3 separate regions of the Homo sapiens genome follow, and regions 1 and 3 are each linked to region 2. The links are contacts of gene promoters, found by promoter capture Hi-C in blood cells and fetal thymus (Javierre and others, 2016). All regions are on one chromosome and are shown on one strand. Each heading gives the region's core, a stretch centred on a gene start or on the middle of the fragment in contact. The rest is flanking DNA. Distances are from core to core; before and after follow the strand shown.

Region 1 (3,145 bases), core at 165-2,664, 630 kb before region 2:
TGTTTAAATCAGTATCACCACAAATATATTAGTAATGCATTGCACTATGGTGTTATGACTGCTGTGACATTACTAGACAATAGGATTTTTTCAGCTTTATTATAATCTTTATTATTATTATGCAGAGACAGGGTCTCGCTATATTGTCCAGGCTGGTTTCAAACTCCTGGCCTCAAGGAATCCTCCCACCTTGGCCTTCCAAAGCACTGGGATTATAGGTATGAGCCACCGCCATCGTACGCTTATGGAACTACTGCCTTATAATGTGGTCTATTGTTGATTAAACTGTCTTTATGCGGGGCATGCTGTACCAGCCATAAACAAACATAAAACGAAATTTTAAAGCAATACTATTTATAAGAGTATGCATAAACATCAAATACCTAAAAACAAATCTAACAAAAAAGAGTTGTAAGATCTCTATAACGAAAACTGCAAAACATGATGGAGGAAATTTAAAGTCCTAAATAAATGGAGACATATACTATGTTCACGTATTTAAAGACTTCTGTAAAGATACCAATTACCATCAAGCTGATCTATAGATCAAATTCAATCAATAGATTAAATTCCAAACACTCTCAGTGGAAATTGATGAATTAATTTTTTGCACTTTATTTTAAAGAATAAGGGGCCAAAAATAACCAAGACAATGTTAAAAAACAAAGCTAGAGGTCCTTAAACTTGAAGTTTTTTAGTACGTCAGAATTATTTTACTATCATATTTATTTTATCAGTATGTTCTACTTAGCTTAGACAAATTGCTGCTTGTCCTAAATCCCTCCAGTTGTTTGAACTGAGTGGTCCTAAGCTTTGTTACAGTAGATCCCTAAAGAATTGTTTATCAGAGTTGTAGTTGGCCCCACTGTTACAAGGGACCCAACCCTTGTGGAAACTGGACATACCTTGAGCTTTGTTTTGGGCACATCCCTTATTTGCTTTTAGTGCATTTTCCTTTTGCTTTTCTTTTTTCCTCTTATAATCTCTAAGCTTCTTGCCTTTACTTATGCCTTTTATCTTAGTCTTTTAACTTTCATTTTAATATTTTAATCTCATTAATTGCTAATCTCTTTCCCTTCATTTTAAAGCCCAACTATTTTGTCTTATTATTTTTAGCCCAAAGTTTGGGAATAAAAAGTTGACTTCCCTGTGGGCTAGTCTTTCAGTTATTAGTTCTCACCAAACTCATTTGTGAACAGAACCATGAGGAGCTGAATAGTAGACAGTTTAATTGAGAAACCTTATACTCATTGAGGTCTAAAAATAGTATTTGTTTGTCTTGTATCTGCTGCCCACTGTTCTCTAACCCCCTCCCTGATAAGTAACAGAAATTCTAATTATTCTTGTATGTATCTGGTTAATAATCAATCAATCAAAAATATTAGTAATGTCATATGTACTCTTTGATGTTCTAATCCCTTTCCTTAATTTCCCTATTTTGCAGATGAGGAAGTTTGGATTAAGAAACCTGCCCAGGCTCGCCCGCTAGAAAGTCATAGAGGCAAGGTTTGAACCCTGGCAGTTTGACTTTAGAGCCCATAACCATTATAAAAAGCTCATTGAGAGAAACCATTACTTATGTAAGATAGCTCTTAATATATTTAGTATATTCATTTTTCATCAAGGGCTTTTATCTAACATACTTGAATAGGCCTCATGACTTCATAAAATCCTTGAATTTGAAGGAGACTTCTATGTGTATACAGTTCAGTTCTTGATATTTGCAGTAGTTGTGCTTTATAAAGTGACCATGAACACAGAATTAGCAAATACTGAGTCATTGCTCCTAGAGGAAATTTAGTGTTATTTTCCTTGGAAAAATACAGAGATAAGCTTTTGCGAGCATCTGGGAACAACATTTCTTATCAACTGATTAATACATAACCTTGTTTTATGTGTGTTTCTGTTTAAAGACATCATATTTAATATTTATTGTTAATTTATTACCAGTGAACTCATGGCCAACATCACTATAAATCATTCCTGAATAAAGCGTATCTAACATACATTTTCTGCATAAGGCACATCCCAGCCTTCTCGTGCTTAGGAACATTAAACAGCACTTCAGCACCATGCTTGGGAGCCATTTTAAACAGAGAAATCATTAACAAAATGCAAAAAATGTGAAAAAAAATGTGGCACTAAAGGATACTCGTTTACAGTTTGAGATCGGAAACAAAAAAGCAAAGTGTCACCCGTTTCCACATCAGCTGGGAATGTGCACATCAGGAAATTCAAAGTTTTTGATGTTTTGCACATGCATACATCTGATAATGACTTTGAAAGGACCTATGGTCTTTGAGGTTACAAGTACACTTTAGTGCGTAGGTGAATTCACAAATTCAGAATCTGTGAATAATGAGGACCAATTGTATATTATCTGCTGAGAAGAAGAAGCTTAGTGATCAGCAGATCCTTAAAAAAGTCTGTGACCTCTCACTCCTTAAGGCCAAAACCAAGACCCGGAATAAGTTAAAGTTACTAGATTATTTGACTCAGGCTAAGCGTATTGAGGATATCACGAGTGAACAGTATTATATTTGCACTTTGTATAATTCCTTCTACTGTATTTTGGTGTGAACAGCAATGTTTCACACTGAGGACTAAGGAACTACCTATGTAAATACACCCTCATTTACAAGTGAAAACTTGAAATTACCTAGTGACCAAATGACCTATTATATTAATGTCACTCATTGACATTTGTCAATTTTGTCAACTTTAATCAGTAGAATTTCTAGGATCATTGTAATGATAAAGATAAGGGAAGATTTTATTCCCAATGTTGTATAGAATCATATTTATAAGAACACAGAGAAGATTTTCCTCTAATGCCAGGACAAAGTAAGCATTTTTATCTGAAGCTACTGGCTTAGTTTTATCAAGGGCACATTATAAATCTTACAGTGATTTTCTTTCTCTGCTTAATGTTCACTGCTAGAAAACTTAGCCAAATGTATGGTCCAACATCAGCTTATGTATATATGTATATTATCCTTTTGATTTTATCTTTTCAAGTATTATTTTACATATGTTCAAATTTTCTCACCTTTCCTTTTTATATTTTATTTTATTTCCCCTTAAATCATCTCTTAAACAAGAATGAGTATACATAAATAAGTTCTGCATATAGAATTGTTTTCAT
Region 2 (3,190 bases), core at 683-3,182:
AAGCAGAAAGTAAGTTTACTAGAGGACGCTAAGTAGTTCAAAGGATAGCTGGAGATTGAGGCTTGCACCTACATGGCCAGAATCTACCTTGGCTGTTACCGGTGGAAGGTGTCCAGGTTCTTGGCATCTTGAACAAGGAATTAGACAAAACGCACAAACAAAGCAAGGAAGGAATGAAGCAACAAAAGCAGAGATTTATTGAAAATGAAAGTACACTCCACAGGGTGTGAAGAGCCGGAACATGGGGCTCAAGAGCGGGGCGGCCGGGTTATAGAATTTTCTGGGGTATAAACACCCTCTAGAGGTTTCCCATTGGCCACTTGGTGTACACCCCACGCAAATATAGTGGCCCACAATCAGTCTGATAGCGGAAAGCAACCAATCAGAGCCTGAAGCGAAGTTACAAAGGTTACACCCTATGCAAACATTTAATTAGTTATGGAAAGCAACCAATCCGAGGTACTTTCAATTTTCCGTCTGCCACGCAGAAAAGGGCGGTGGTGGGGGAGGGGGCCGGGTCCCTTTGTTACTTAGCTGTGGAAAGTTGGGGCTTTCCTTTTGATTTAGTTCTAGAAAGTCAGCATGAATCAGCCGTAAGTTCCTTGCCTCCAGACCCTATTGTCCTGCCTCACAGCTATGTAGTACAGAGTCTGTCACAGGCTACCCAGAAATGTACACAGAGACTGTTAACAGGCTACAGAACAGATTGGGAAAGGGCTCTGGGGTTGTGACCCTCACCAAGCACAGGCATCTTGCATCTCTGACATGTTAATGGTGGATGCCAGCACTCTCACTACTGCCTCGGAAGCTTACCTTGCTGTTAGGGATGGGTTCTCGATCTCTACACTTGCTATACTCCTACAGGTGACCTGGGAGTGTAGCTTTCTGTGCCTTTTTTGACTCATGGCTTCCAGCGGGTACACATGATTAGTTAAACAAGTGTTCAGCATTTCAGCGGCAGCCATTAGACTCTTAACTCAGGTGGGGAATTCTCCAAATACGGAAGGGGATTCAAATGGGGGGCATAATAAATGTATATAAATGTCCATTAAAGGCAAGTTGAGTTGGAAGTGATGACAATATATTTGAGTAGAAACATCTAGCAGGTAGTTGGAAATGTGGCACTCGTGTTCCCCAGAGAGCTAGTTACAGATTTGGGAAGTTGAGTTGTGATTGCTTTTAAAATCAGGAGTCTAGAGAGAATCTAACTCAAAATTTTCATCCACATATGCAGAATCTCAATCTGAGAGTTGTTCATTCCTATAGATGTGCTGGCCACACCAACCCCCAACATCTATTATGAAAATTAGGAAATTCACACTCTATTATGGAAAATAGGAAAAATATATAGATAATACATGCAAAACAAGTGGGAGGAGAGAACTACGGATCGTGGAGAGCCTATTGCATATTATTATTTTACAAATATTTAAGTGCCAACTATGTGTCAGGCACTATGCTAAGGTGATTTAATGTTGAGCAAAACCCGACATGTCCCTGCATTTGAGGAACTGAAAGGTCTGAGGGAGGGCCTAAGGAGCTTGGGCCTTAGCTGGTTACAAAGCCATATATTATGCCATATATATTAATGAGCAGCAACGCCTCCCGCAGTATTTACAGCCCACGCGTGGCAGTCCTGTCCACCCTGTCCCCGTTCGGTCCAGCCCGAGGCGGTGGCCTAGATGCTTGATGGGCACTGTCAGCCTGATCTTTGGTGGTCTTCCCGCTGTCTGTTCTCAGCTGCTGATTCCAGGTCCCAGGAGTCGACTTTGGCTTGAGGAAGGCAGGCGCCTTAGGTGGGGCAGTTGACACTCGCGCAGCGCCTTGCTCACCTGAGTGTGTGGCGGCGCGCGGGTTTGGGCGGGGAGGGGGCCGGGCCTCGGGAAGGAGGCGCGCCGCGCAGTTTGACCCCGGCGGCGTTCCGTACCGTCGCGGATTTCGGCGGCGGAAACATGGCGGTCGCGGCCGGGCCGGTAACGGAGAAAGTTTACGCCGACACTGGCCTGTATTAGCGCGTATGGCCTCGGGCCCTCGTTCCCCAAGGCGTGCCGCCTCCCTGTTCTCAGTCGCAGGCTGAAGCCTTGTCTGCTCTCCTCCTTTTTGGTTTGGTTTTGGAACTGACTCCGAGGGTTGGGAGAGCGCGTTGGTGGCGACGGCCGAGTCAGGTAGGGAGAAATGGGTGGACGGCAGGGCGGCGAGATCTAGGCATAGACACTGCCAGGGCTCCGCGTGGTCCGGACCCCAAGCTCCGCCCAGTCGGCCTCCCAGGGCCGGGGTAGGATACCTGCCTCTGGAGGAGTTGACAGTGGTGGTTGGAGATTGGAGGGTGTGGGAGCGCCTCTCCGTATTTCGCAAGGGTTCCCCCTCAACTGGGCGCCACGTTGTGGTCGCGTTCTCCGAGGCAGAGGATGGTGGAGAACAGCCAAGCTCCTTGTCGGACCTCCCACATCTCGCTAGAAGGAGGCCGAAAGGGAGAGAAATTGCTGTTGCTGCTCTAGTGCTGAGGAGTTTGATATTCTAGATGACATTTTCCTCGTATGAGATGGCTCAAAGAGTTATCAGTAATTCAGAACTGAAGCACTGAAATTCCCTGTTTTTTCAGTGTAGTTCTTTCAGCCTTGACACTTCTAGATGGGACAGAGTTTCTGAGTGAAAGATAATGCAAGTGATACGGTATGCCTCAAGCCATTCCCTAGAGGTAGGACATGGAGAGAGAATTGGTTTGGAAGAATTTGGGTGAATTAAGTAAAGACTGGTGGAAAGCTGAAATAGAAACCAAACATTCATGGACTCTCCCTTAGTTCTACTAGTTATTAGTTGTGGGATATAGCTAAGTTCTGTATTCTCTTTAGGCATTAGTAAGTGTCCAATGGTGACTATTGTTGTTAAATGTAGTTATTTCTTTATTAGTCTTTATTTTTCAACAAGTATTTATTGAATACCTTCTTGATGCCGGATTTTTGCTAGTCACTGGGTGTACAGTATTGAAGACAAACCCTCAGAGACCTTTTGATCTAGTGGGAAATGCAGACATGAAATAAGTGATGGTATGTAACAGAGAAAGTATGGGGGTCATGTAATGGGGAGGGGGCAGGGATAATCTCTTAAGAAAATGATTTATCTGAGACCTGAAGAGTTGGAATAAGCCAGGTGTGAGCACTGGGGTGGGGCCAGGAGGAGGAAAAGGAGT
Region 3 (3,176 bases), core at 195-2,694, 580 kb after region 2:
ATAAATATATAAATATGAAATAATCACAATAACTGCAAGACAGGTATTATACGGATATTTTCATAAATGTGGCAGCACATATAATAAACCTATGTTACACAGCTTTTAAATGTCAGAATTGGAATTTAAATACCGTTTTGTCAAAATAAGGTCTAGTCCTCTTTCCATTGCCATGTCAAATATATGAGACTGGACTTAATGGTTTATAGAAATAGAATGACAGCCTGTAGAAAATTGGTAACAGCCATATAGATGATGAAAGACAGAATTCAAGGTCCATGTGGTAGGTCATTCAGTTACAGGCTTAAAGTTATAAAGGCCAGATCTAAAGTATTCTTTTAAAAAATGTAATTATTATTTAAACAACATTAAAACTTTATTTTAAAAAACTGAAATACTATCCTTAAATGCTAACTATGATCACCTTGACAGAATATCATCCTCCTGATATTTTGCATTTTAGTTGGTATGCATACCTTTCACAAGCATAAAACATCTATTCAGTTTTTTATTCTACTTCAGTTCCTCTGCTCAAAATAGTAGCCACTCTAAATGCCTTGAATAAATTTCAAGCATATTCTAACATTAGACTGTTATACAATGTTTACTGTATGCAGCTTTGATAAACACTGGATGTACAAAAGTGAAATAAGGCAACTCTTGACCTCAAGAAGTTCACTGTCCACTGGGGTAGACAAAGTTGCCAAAAAATAACTACAGTGTGACATGGTAAGTGGATAATGGAGATATGGGAAAGGAAGCAGGGTGACTGAAGATGAGGCTAGACAAGTAGATTAGAATCTTAAATGCCACACAGAGAGTTTGGACCTAATTATACATGTAGCAGAATTACACTGAAGATTTCAAGTGGAGATCCATGAATATATTTGTTTTACAATGTGGATTAAAGGAGGTAAAGTCAAGAGTCAGTGAGATCAACAGGAAGGTTTTGCAATCGTTCAGGCTAGAATTCCATTCTGGTCAAACACTTATTAAACATTAACAATGTGCCAAGAACAGAATCAGGCTGACAAACACACATACAACTGGTTCTCAAGAGCACTTTCTGGGGCATGGGAGATGCAGGTAGGTAATTCAGCAGTAATGGTGAGGGTTAGTAATGGAATTAGCACAGTGGCTGTAGCTATGAATAGAGGGAACAGGTTCAAAATATACTACAGGCGCAGAAAAATAAGGCTTGCTAACTGATCAAATTCAGTACCTGAGGGCGAGTTAGGAATCAAGGATGCTTCCTAGGTTTCTAGCTTAGACTTGATGCCATTTATTGAAATAGGAAATACAAGAATGAGGAGTTTACATCACCTGCTACCCTTCCCTCTTTCTTCCAGAGACATCACACATGAGATAGTAAGTTCTCTGGAAGATAAACATTACCAAAATCATCAGATAATAAGGTCCAGAATCCAAGCATTAGCAAAATCATCAACTACTAAACACCCATTCGGAGGGAAAAAAGTTGACTTTGACAGAATATTACAATATGGAGATACAGATTAATACTCAGAAGAAATAGCCTCAGTCACAAAAGCCTCCTAAATGTATTATTACTGAATTGTGCTACCTTGCTGATTTTTAAAAACAGCAAAAGAACAAATGCCAATGACACCACGTGAGGGATGCTGAATCTATTTATTATCTGTTCTTAATTTTAGGAGACAAATTGAAATTCTGGTTACTGTTCAGATGTATGTAAAGCAGTGTCCTTTAACCCTTGACCTAGTGTGCCAGGTGCAGTAGCTCACGCCTGTAATCCCAGCACTTTGGGAGGCCGAGGAGGGTGGATCACCTGTGGTCAGGAGTTTGAGACCAGCCTGGCCTAGATGGCGAAACTCTGTCTCTACTAAAAATATAAAAATTAGCTGGGCATGGTGGCACACGCCTGTAATCCCAGCTACTCGGGAGGCTGTGGCAGGAGAATCACTTGAACCCGGGAGGCGGAGGTTGCAGTGAGCTGAGATCGTGCCACTCCACTCCAGCTTGGGTTACAGAGCAGGACTCTGTCTCAAAAAAAAAAACAAAAAAAAAAAACAAAAAACAAAAACAAAAAAAGCAAAAAAATCCTTGACCTCAATGTGGGGACTTTCTTGGAGAAGGATGGAGCCACAGAAGTCTGGCAACACAGTGGTCTCAGTGAGTGTTGCACCTGCCTGCACCCCACCCACTGACTCACTCTAGCAGAGATTTTGAGGAATTGCAAGGATTTCTATAAAAAGTCTTCCTAGGCCTCACTGTCCCAGGGTATTAAACACACAGACTAACATTTTAATCAGAGCAAGAAGAAAATCTCTTAAAAGAAGCAGTTTTCAAGAAGTCAAAAAGGTGTATGTTTTTTAAAAATTTTATTTTTATTATACTTTAAGTTCCAGGGTACATGTGCACAACTTGGAGGTTTGTTGCATATGTATACATGTGCCATATTGGTTTGCTGCACCCATTAACTCGTCATTTACATTAGGTATTTCTCCTAATGCTATCCCTTCCCCATCCCCCAACCCCACGACAGGCCCGGGTATGTGATGTTCCCTGCCCTGTGTCCAAGTGTTCTCATTGTTCAATTTCCACCTATAAGTGAGAACATGTGGTGTTTGGTTTTCTGTCCTTGCGATAGTTTGCTCACAATGATGGTTTTCAGCTTCATCCATGTCCCTACAAAGGACATGAACTCATCCAAAAAGGTGTATGATTTTTACAGGGAAAGACATACTTGATAACCTAAATGACTGCCTAACAAAAAATATACTTTTAATATAAATATTTACACCTAAAATTTATATCACACCTTGTTGGCTTTGAAAAGATTTTGGAAAAAGTAACAGAATGATACATAGGTTATTAAGCAGAATTTTTAATGACAACTTTATCTTATAAAAATGACATAAAAAATCAACCATTAATTTCTCCTGTTGACTGCTACAAGTCAATGAGAATACTGGGTATTTCTCACCGAGGGTGAGAAATTTTTTTATGTTATAGATACCGCAAATTCACTACTACTCAACACTTTTATTGAAAACAAACTGGAATCAAAAACTAAGCTTTCTATCAGTTACTTAATTCAATCTACTAGTCATTGAAACATTGGTCCTGGATTATTTCCTCAAAGTTTGTGACAATATGGGGGAAAGAACACTCATATACTACAGGTGGCAATGTAT

Evidence for each region. The method cuts DNA at HindIII sites, captures the fragments that hold promoters and counts their contacts. A CHiCAGO score of 5 or more calls a contact.
Region 1: a contact is called between a fragment that was not itself captured here and the fragment with the promoter of TMEM168 in region 2, in 1 of 17 cell types (M1 macrophages). The highest score is 5.5, in M1 macrophages.
Region 3: a fragment that was not itself captured here is called in contact with the fragment with the promoter of TMEM168 in region 2 in 7 of 17 cell types (naive CD4 T cells, non-activated CD4 T cells, total CD8 T cells and 4 more); the score reaches 7.9 in naive CD4 T cells.

The regions. Positions count from the first base shown.
Region 1 is chr7:113,423,265-113,426,409 of GRCh38, reverse strand. No RefSeq gene overlaps it. Among named protein-coding and RNA genes, the nearest start is that of SMIM30, 310 kb to the right of the region's middle. The HindIII fragment of the contact is 843 bases long and covers 993-1,835 here.
Region 2 is chr7:112,789,135-112,792,324 of GRCh38, reverse strand. It overlaps TMEM168 (transmembrane protein 168), which reads left to right and starts at 1,932. Exons shown (of 5, transcript NM_022484.6): 1 at 1,932-2,165. RefSeq lists an enhancer at 1,544-1,673. The HindIII fragment of the contact is 5,754 bases long and covers 811-3,190 here.
Region 3 is chr7:112,209,339-112,212,514 of GRCh38, reverse strand. All of the region lies in intron 1 of ZNF277 (zinc finger protein 277), which reads right to left. Among named protein-coding and RNA genes, the nearest start is that of ZNF277, 4.2 kb to the right of the region's middle. The HindIII fragment of the contact is 3,228 bases long and covers 1-3,058 here.